Linked DNA regions of Homo sapiens: all the other regions are linked to region 3. Evidence: promoter capture Hi-C in 16 types of primary human blood cells and fetal thymus (Javierre and others, 2016). All regions are on one chromosome and are shown on one strand. Each heading gives the region's core, a stretch centred on a gene start or on the middle of the fragment in contact. The rest is flanking DNA. Distances are from core to core; before and after follow the strand shown.

The links. Contacts are between HindIII fragments. The CHiCAGO score rates a contact against its expected background, and 5 or more counts as called.
Region 1: a contact is called between a fragment that was not itself captured here and the fragment with the promoter of SIK3 in region 3, in 1 of 17 cell types (erythroblasts). The highest score is 5.9, in erythroblasts.
Region 2: a fragment that was not itself captured here is called in contact with the fragment with the promoter of SIK3 in region 3 in 16 of 17 cell types (naive CD8 T cells, total CD8 T cells, fetal thymus and 13 more); the score reaches 15.4 in naive CD8 T cells.

The regions. Positions count from the first base shown.
Region 1 is chr11:116,718,558-116,721,740 of GRCh38, reverse strand. No RefSeq gene overlaps it. Among named protein-coding and RNA genes, the nearest start is that of BUD13, 53 kb to the left of the region's middle. The HindIII fragment of the contact is 1,835 bases long and covers 913-2,747 here.
Region 2 is chr11:116,752,175-116,755,341 of GRCh38, reverse strand. All of the region lies in intron 9 of BUD13 (BUD13 spliceosome associated protein), which reads left to right. Among named protein-coding and RNA genes, the nearest start is that of BUD13, 19 kb to the left of the region's middle. The HindIII fragment of the contact is 4,243 bases long and covers 1-3,167 here.
Region 3 is chr11:117,097,012-117,100,356 of GRCh38, reverse strand. It overlaps SIK3 (SIK family kinase 3), which reads left to right and starts at 1,929. Exons shown (of 25, transcript NM_001366686.3): 1 at 1,929-2,214. The coding sequence starts at 1,942. RefSeq lists silencers at 1,741-1,920, 2,001-2,050. The HindIII fragment of the contact is 6,059 bases long and covers 1-3,071 here.

The DNA.
Region 1 (3,183 bases), core at 581-3,080, 380 kb after region 3:
ATTTCCATCTGCTGTAACCATAGGCCCTCTGTGATGGTTAATACTGAGTGTCAACTTGATTGGCTTGAAGGATACAAAGTATTGATCCTGCGTGTGTTTGTAACTGTGTTGCCAAAGGAGATTAACATTTGAGTCAGTGGGCTGGGAAAGGCAGACCCACCCTTCATCTGGGTGGGCATCTAATCAGCATCTAATCAGCTGCCAGTGCAACTAGAATATAAGCAGGCAGAAAAATGTGAAAAGAGAGACTGGCCTAGCCCCCTGGCCTACATCTTTCTGCCGTGCTGGATGCTTCCTGCCCTCGAACACTGGACTCCATGTTCTTCAGTTTTGGAACTCGGACTGGCTCTCCTTGCTCCTCAGCCTTCAGATGGCCTATTGTGGGACCTTGTGATCATGTGAGTTAATATGTTAATACTCAAACTCTCCTTTATATATATATCTATTCCATTAGGTCTGTCCCTCTAGAGAACCCTGACTAATACACCCTCTAACCTCTAAGTGGCCACAGTATTGATGCAGCATCCACTGTGTACAGAATCTAGTTCTCATCAAGGATACCCACTAGGACCTTGCAGGGCACACCGCGGAAGGCTCTGCTTTGGAGGAGACATGGTGGGAAGCATGGTGGCAGCGCATGGCTTGAATACTAAGCACGTGGTGGAGCAGTAAGGCCATGTCCTGTGCTGAGGACCACAGTCGGGGGAAGGGACAGGGGTGTTGAGGCGATTTAAGTGGCAGAGCCTTATGCCCTTGAAATCCACATAGGTGTCAGGCCAGGTGGGAGGAATCATGTTAACAGGGCACCTGAAAGGGCAAAATTCACACTGAGTTACAGTGGATGAAACCTGAGCTGTCTTTCATGGCAGAGTGGAAGGTGGGAGGGGGTCTCCAGGCAGTGAAGCTCAAGCTTTCTAGGGAGGTTCCCTCTAGCTACAGATCCCTTTCCTGGAAAATGTGCAGGTGCGCCTCCAAACCCCAATGCAATGAGGCCTGCTTTGGGCTCCTGGGCCTGAGGTAGAGGATTCCTGCCCGGTCCGGGCAAAGACATGTGGGCTTTAGAAAAACCAGACAGGAAGAGAGGGCAACAGGGACAGTGGGAGCCAGATGGCCCGCCCAGGGTCTATGTGGGAAATCTGAGGGGGCCTCCTAGGAAGACAGAACCCTCTGTGGGAGAGGTTTTGTCTGGAGACGGAGGACTGATCCTGGGACTGCGAAGGTAAGCAGGCTGCTGCCTCAGAACACAGAGCCAAAGGGGAGAGGGCTCTGATGTGGCACTGGGGGCAGAGGTAGGAACAGAACCAGGCACGAAGAACTTCCATCCCTTAGGGTGGTGGGCGGGGTCAGGAGGTGGGGCAGGGAGGCTGCTGTGAGAAAATCACCAGACTTGGGTGTGAAAGGACCCATCACCTCCTCGAATTCAACCTTCAGAGGAATGTGTGTGAGAGCCGTCATGACTCCATGCTATCAATAAGGAGACTGGGCTTGGAGAAGTTGGGAGTGAGGGGCATGGAGGTGGAGGAAAGAAGGGAAGACGTTGCAGAGGCAGGTGCTTGTGGAAGGGCAAGTGCTGGGGCTTTGAACTGGCATCTGTGTGATTCCTAGTGCTGTGCTGCTCACACAGGGCCGTCGGTGCCAGCTCTTCCATGGGCACTTGCACTCTGGCTGTCGCTGTCTACCTTTACCTCACCAGTTGGCAGCCAGATTCTTCCAGACCAGTGATCAGAAAGGGCCTCTGTGTCTCTAGTCCCTGGTCACTAGGCTCTCGGGATCCTGCTCTTTTTATGGGAGCCGAGTTGGCAGGAGCTTGGCTTCTGACCAGCTGCTGGAAGAAGGATGAGAATCAGATCTTCAGAAGGGTGGACCTTTCTTGGTGGATTGTGTTCAAGAAATCAAAGAAGAGAGACAGTTTGAGTATTGCGAGCAGGCCCGATGGGGAGGCTGTGAACTGGGACTGGGTGCTGCTCTGTCACTCGCTGTCTGATTAGTCTTGGGTAAGTCACTTTTTCTCTCTGGTCCTTAGTTTCTTAATTTGTAAAATGGGATAATTTATCCTTCATCCACCTGCCTTTCTGTCCATCCATTATTCCATCTATCCATCCTTCCATCCATCCACCCACCCACCCAGCAACTATTTATTGAATGTCACCTCTATGCTGGGCACGGTATGTGGCACTGAGGATACACAGCGTGACAAGGTTGACATGATCCCTGCCCCTTGTGGATCTTAGATTGACCAAGGAAGAAAGACATTAAGTAATAATAACAATAATAATGATAATATAATGATAATGCCTGTCTTCTATGGCTGTTTGGGGACTAAACTAATGAGACAGTGTAGGAGAGGGGTTTTACAAGCACTTTCTTGCTAGGAGTTCTTATTATCAGAAGTCCTGCCCAAGCAGGAGCTAGAGAAGCCTTCAGCTCTTTAAGCCTATGACAATGTTTAGTCCAAACAAAGTCCATTCCCTCTCTATTATCCACCTCAGCTAACTCCTGGAGCTGCTTCTCCTTCCTCTTGCCCCCTGCCTCTAGCTTCCTGCTGTGTCTTCCCTGCAGGAGAGAAAGGAAACCTCAGTGATCAGTCACGTCCCTGCCCTGGCGGAGGGGCCGGATGGGGGAGCTGAGCTAACTGCTGCTAATTAGCACCACTGAACCTTGGCCAAGCTGGAGAGGCAGATAAAGGGAGGTGGCAGAACGGGGGTGGTACATGTATGGTCCTGTTGAGGGTGTCCTAGGCCCAAGCTTCTCTAGGACAGGCCCTGAGATAACCCCTCTTCCATGCCATCCCTTGGCTGTGCCCACCTAACATCACCCATGAACACACAGTGGAGAGGGTAGAGCTATATGGTAGTGGAGGAGGAAGCGGATGGCCCAGAAGAGAGGACCCTTCCAACTGCTGCCTTCCTTCTCCAGATTCAGGGGAGGTACTCTCCCCGCCTTCTTAGTATTCTCATCTCCAGATCTCAGTGTGGGCTGTTGCCTCTGTGGAATGCCCTACCTTCTTCATCACCACATTTCACCTGTCCTTCCAGACCAGAGAAGAAGCCTCCTCCACCAAATCTGCCCTATCCACTAGCTGGAAGCAATACCTTCTTTCCCTAAATGCCCACAGCGCTTGGTTCATGCCTTGCTTATGCATGTATCCCGCTCTCTTTTGCATCATGCATGTTGGGCATGGGT
Region 2 (3,167 bases), core at 324-2,823, 340 kb after region 3:
TACAATATCAGAAAATCACTTTTGTTAACATCACTTCCGGTCTTATCACAAAACTCTTTAAATAATGGGAAGTTAAAGAGTTCACAGTTTTTCAGAATTCTAATTTACACTTGAAAGTTTAAATGTTATCACTGGCATTTCCATTGCTTGAGCTATTTCCATTTAATAGCTTAATTTCTCTGCTGAGATTTCCCATCTGTTCATTATGAGATATTTTCCTCTTCTTGAAAATATTTGTGATATGTAATTGGTGCTTTGAAGTCCTTCCTGTCTGTTAATTGCAACATTGGATTCACCACAGGATTGGTTTCTATATTGGCAGCTTTTTCTTCAGTGTGTATTACATTTTCCTGTTTATTTACCTGTCTGGTCACTTTTTTAAATTGTTACTGGACATCATGAATGATATACTGTAGAGACTTTGAGTTCTGTTACACTGTATTGTCAGTTGTTTTCCTTCAGGTAAAGCTCACTTTGTACAATAGCTTTTTATAGATTCCATCAGATTTTGTACCTAGAGGGTCTTCCATCTTTGCATACAGTTTAATTTCTTACTTTACAATCTAGATGCTTTTTGTTTCTTTTCCTTGCCCTGTTGCATTAGCTAGCACTTCAGTGCAGATGTTGAATAGAAGTAGTGAGAGCAGACATCTTTGCTTTGTTCCTAATCTCAGGAAGAAAACATTTAGTTTTTACAACACATTTATTAAATGTGTTGTAGCTGTATAGGTTTTTTGTAGATATCCTTTATGGAGTTAAAGTTCCCTTCTATTCCTGTTTTGCTGAGAGTTTTGTTTTCAGGAATGTATGTTGGATTTTGTTCAAAATATTTTCTAATTATCCTTTTGGTTTATTCTTTGCTCCATGGGTTATTTAGGAGTGCATTAATTCCAAATATTTGGACTTTTCTAGATATCTTACTGCTATTTACTTATAATTTAATTCCATTTTGGTCAGATAATATACTGTAATATTTTGATCTTTTGAAATTTGTTGGCCAGGCACAGTGGCTCATGCCTGTAATCCCAACATTTTGGGAGCCCAAGGCAGACGGATTGCTTGAGCCTAGGAGTTTGAGACCAGCCTGGGCAACATGGCAAAACCCTGTCTCTACAAAAAAATACAAAAATTAGTCGGGCATGGTGGCACACGCCTATAGTCCCAGCTACTGTGGAGGCTGAGGTGGGAGGATCACTGAGCCCAGGGAGGTCGAGGCTGCAATGTGCTGTGATTGCACCACTGCACTCCAGCCTGGATGACAGAGTGAGACCATGTATCAAAAAACAATAATAAAAATGAAATTTGTTAAGGTGTGTTTTATGGCCCAGTGGATAGTCTATCTTCTGAATGTTTCCTTTGCACTTGAAGAGAACGTATATTCTGTAGCTATATAAGGTAGTGTTTTATAAAAGTCAGTGAGGTCAAGGTGTTTAGATCTTAGATCGCCTGTATTCTGGGTTTTTTGTGTTTGTATTTTTCTATCAGTTACTATCAATTGTGGATTTTTTGTTTTAGCTGGTTTATTTTGTTTTTCAACTCTAAAATTTCCATTTAATAGCTTACATTTCTCTGCTGAGATTTCCCATCTGTTCATTATGAGACATTTTCCTCTTCTTGAAAATATTTATGATATGTAATTAGTGCTTTGAAGTCCTGTCTGCTAATTGCAACATTGGATTCACCACAGGATTGGTTTCTATTGACAGCTTTTTCTTCAGTGTGTATTACATTTTCCTGTTTATTTACCTGTCTGGTCACTTTTTAAAATTGTTACTACGCATCATGAATGATACACTGTAGAGACTTTGAGTTCTGTTACACTGTATTCCTCTTAAGTGTGTTAGTTTTTATTCTAGCAGGTAGTTAACATAGCTGAACTCCAAACTGTCTCCTTTGCAGTGGACGGCAGCTACAATCTTTGCTCAGTTCTTTTAGTTTCTAGCTGCCATTTTTTTAATTGGCCTGATGGTATTTTCTCTGCACATGTGTCATTTAACAGTTAGCCAAGGATTTGACTAGGGTTTGTATGTAGATTTTGAGGTTCATCTCTTTTGTAGTTCCTTCTCTTCCAAGATTTCCCCCCTAATTTCCTAGCTGTTCTGCCCACTTTGCACTAATTCCTCAAGCCAGTAAGCCTGTGGCTTTCTGCCTTCATGAGCCATGCTGTTTGGGAAGTTGCCCTCCAGCAAATCTCTTTTCACATATAGACTTCATCCAGTTCATACTTACTTTTGGTCACTCTTCCACACCTTCAAATACCTATTTTTTTTGTTTTGTCTAGGTTTTATAGTTGCTAACTGAGGATAGGTTAGTCTGTTCGGGTTACTCTGCAATGTCTAGAATCTGTCTCCCCACCTTATATGGGCCTAAGGCGTTGTCTTCTGTCCCTCGGGGTGCCGTCAAAATCCAACAGCCAGGTGTGGTGGCGTGTGTCTGTAGTACCAGCTATTTGGGAGGCTGAGGCAGGAAGATCGCTTGAACCCAGGAGTTTAAGTCCAGGCTAGGCAACATAGTGAGACCCCAACTCCAGAATAAAAAAATTTAAGGCTCTTCTTTCTGATATTGGCAGATATCTATAAGTTGACTGTAGTTCCTCATCTTGGCAGATATCTTTAGGGTAGCTGTGGTTACAGGCTAGCTTACTAGTTCCGTTTGCAGTTCACTGTATGTAGGCTTTTTGGTAGAAGGAGGATTTTTCAGAACACTCATTTGCCATACATACAGCCAGAAGTAGATCTTTTTATAGCACAACCCTACAGATGTTCCCTGCTACCGAGTTTTTGTTTTTTGTTTTTTAATTTTTGGACCCAAAACTTAGAATTCTCCCTGACCTAGTTTTTTTTTACTAGTATTTAATTTGTCTTCATTTTTCTCAGTTGCTTTTTTCCACTTCTTGTTCTGATTTTATCCTAGATTTCTTCTCTTATTTCCCTTTGTCACCCTTGCTTTCTTTTTGTTATTCATCTTTCATCATCTTTTCTAGTTTTGTCTCTTTTCGGCCTGCTGCAAGGGAATATTTCCGGAACAGATATATAGTATCTGTTGGAAAAACCCATAAGATAATTACCCAGCCTCTCTTAATTGAAAGAGAAACGGGGCCGGGTGCGGTGGCTCATGCCTATAATCTCAGCACTTTGGGAGGCCGAGGCGGGCAGATCACGAGGTCA
Region 3 (3,345 bases), core at 680-3,179:
AGGCTGAGGCGGGGGGATCACGAGGTCAGGAGTTCGAGACCAGTCTGGCCAACATATCGAAACCCCGTCTCTACTAAAAATACAAAATTAGCCGGGCATGGTGGTGTGCGCCTGTAGTCTCAGCTACTCGGGAGGCTGAGGCAGGAGAATGGCTTGAACCTGGGAGGTGGAGGTTGTGGTGAGCTGAGATTGCACCACTGCACTCCAGCCTGGGTGACAGAGTGAGACTCTGTCTAAAAAAAAAAACAAAAACCCAAAAACTGCAGCTGTGAAGCCCAGCACCAAAGTTATAGTCCCTGCTAGAGGCAGCTGAGAGCCATGAAGTGATAGGAGAGGCAGGTCACACCCCATCATTTATCTGGGATGGAATGAGCTCAGCTGATGAAAGGGCTTAACCAATGCAAGAAGCCAAGGCCCACTTCATTCTTATCTTTAGTTGCTAATAAGGGAGCCAATTAGTGTTAATTGTGTTGGCAGTTTGGAACAGCTACCAGGGAATAGATCCAAGACCATTGTGGGATGACCCCTCTGTCCCATCTTAAGTCCCAGCCATTACTCATGGTTGGATAGGGAATTGGAGCACCAGGAGGTGTTCTTTGGTCAGCGAGTAAACACGAGTTATCCTTCCACACATTTACAGTGCCCTGGGTGTCAGTTTTTAATACTGTGCATGCAGTGACCTCACAATACAGTTCTACCATTGAGAGAGACATAGATATGGATGGATCAGGACTAGTCCAAAGGAATACATTTTAACATTGGAATATTCACAATCTTCCCTCCTTTCCACCCAGCCTGCCAAAGACTATTTTGTTGACAGTCTGATTTCCTACCTGCAACCCTCACCTAAAGCAGCTAAGTTAATCTATTTAATAAAGGGAAGGGGAGAGAGGAGGAGGAAGCCTGGGAGCTATGAAGGATGCAGGTAATAGGCAAGGGAAGAAAAAGAGATATGAAATTGCTGGAGTTATTAACTTGATGACCCTCAATGTCCTCGGAGAGTCACTAGGAAGGATGGAATTTTTATTATTTACTTATTTATTTTGCTTAACCGACTGTTGTTTAAACACGACGTGGTTCATTGGACAATGCGCACCACTGCTTCATCAGGGTTATACAAGCAACAGAAATAGTATGTAGGCACTCTGACAGACATCCCTGTAGAATTGTTCAGAGATGGGGGTGGTAGGAAGGAAAATGACGTACCTTCTTTGGCTGTCACCCACCCAATGACTGGAATGCCTGTTTGGACTGGCTTGTCCGCCCTTGAACACGCAAATCCTAGTTTCCCCATTCTCCTATATTCGGTGACAATTAGGTTGACTGTGCAGGGTGAGCTGGATTTTGTAAGAGGAAGGAATTTTACCGAAGAATTCCCCTGCGTTGTTACCAACTTGGTTACAGTTGCTTCAAGAGTGTAGCTATTCCTGCATTTGTGGCCTCAAGGGCTAAAGTGGGACAACGCTGGTATTTTTGGTGATGAGGAAACACTTTTTTTTTGTTAAGGGAGGTTGGGTGATCGTTGAACTGGGACAGAGGTCACAGCAGAGGTCACATTGGCGATTCGAGCGGCGGTGGGGGGTTGGCTTTGGGTCGGGCATCCTGCGCCCCCCACTCGGGAAAGGTGGCGGAGACTTCGAGGTTGGGGGCCCATCGAAGGTTCCCACCGCCAGCTCCCGGAGGGGGGCACCCGGGAGCCAGCGCCTCAGGAACCGGGGCCCACGCGGGAAGGTCGAGCCCGCCGGTGAGGTCACGGTTGCCATGGCTCCGGGCAGTGACGCGCGTCGGCACGTGACCCGCGGTTGCCATGGAGCCGGGCGCCGGTCGGCGAAAGCGCCCCGCCTCCCCGAGTGACGTCCGCGGCCCCCCCTTTCCCGCCCCCCCTTGCCCCCTCCCCCGAGCCGGCTCCCCGCGGCCCCGGAGGTTTCACTGCACAACAAGATGGCGGCGGCGGCGGCGAGCGGAGCTGGCGGGGCTGCCGGGGCCGGGACTGGGGGAGCCGGGCCCGCGGGCCGCCTGCTGCCTCCGCCCGCGCCGGGGTCCCCAGCCGCCCCCGCTGCCGTGTCCCCTGCGGCCGGCCAGCCGCGTCCCCCAGCCCCGGCCTCCCGCGGACCCATGCCCGCCCGTATCGGCTACTACGAGATCGACCGCACCATCGGCAAGGGCAACTTCGCGGTGGTCAAGCGGGCCACGCACCTCGTCACCAAGGCCAAGGTACCGGCGCAGGGGCCAGGCGGCAGTCGGAGCGTGGCGGGGCCGGGAGAGGTCCGCGCCCCCCAGCCGGGGGGTCGGGGCGGCGAGCGCGGCGCGTGGTGGGAGCGTTGGGGGCCGGGAGGCGGGAGGGAGCCAGCCGCGGCGGGGCGGGCGCGGAGCTAGGGACACCTGGGACTCGAGACGGCGGAACTCCAAGCAGGGGGCCGAGGGCACAGAGCACCGGCGCCCAGGAGCCGGGCGCGGGGAGGGGTCCTCGGGGCTGAGGGCAGGCGGGTAAAGGGGATGATTGGAAAGAAGGGGTCGGAACTCCCCGAGGGCCGGGAGACTGTAAGCCCAGAAGACTCTGGAACCAGCAGCTAGGGAATCATAAGGGAATGAGGGCAGGGGCATATGAAATGTGGACCCGGAGGATGGGGAAAAACAAGGGTGAAGTGGCAGACCCGGGCTTGTAAGGGGACCCAGGACGGCTGGGGCACGGACTGGGAATGTGCACGTCTGCAGGGCGCTGGGAGGTCCCAGGATCCTGGTGCCTTAAGACAGAGACAGGAATCCGCATTTGATCATCTAAGACTGATAGATGGTGCGAAGGGGATCCCGAGGAGACACGATTAGTGGAGGAGGCAATGAGGAAAATGGGGAAATAAGGGGGAAATTGCTTTGCTTGTCCACAGGAAGGGGCCCAGGGAATGGGGGAGTGAGGTGGGGGTGGGGGCTGTCCCAGGTTTATGATGGCACTAGGTAGTCAGGGGTTAAACAATTTGGGAGAGCTGATTGCTGGTTATTTTTAGTTGTTGGAGGGTCGGGAATTGTGGGCTTTGTAGAACCCAGGGTGGGCTTTTACTGGTTGGGGGGAAGCTTGTGATTGAAGAACCCAGACACCGGGAGATTACACTCATCGAGCCCTTAGTTCTCAAAGGGATTTGAGGCGCTATAGGAGTGAAATTGGCCAAGGTCAATTAGGAAGCTATATATGTATGCATGTAAAATTCTTTGAGGAAATATGGTAGCACTTTCATGTAGCCTTCGTTGGGAGGACTGGAATCTAAGACATCAGGAGGAATCTTTTGGTTTTGGTGGAACCCGCAAAGCCCATTTTTACTCTAAAATTTTCTTTGCTCAATATCTTACTTG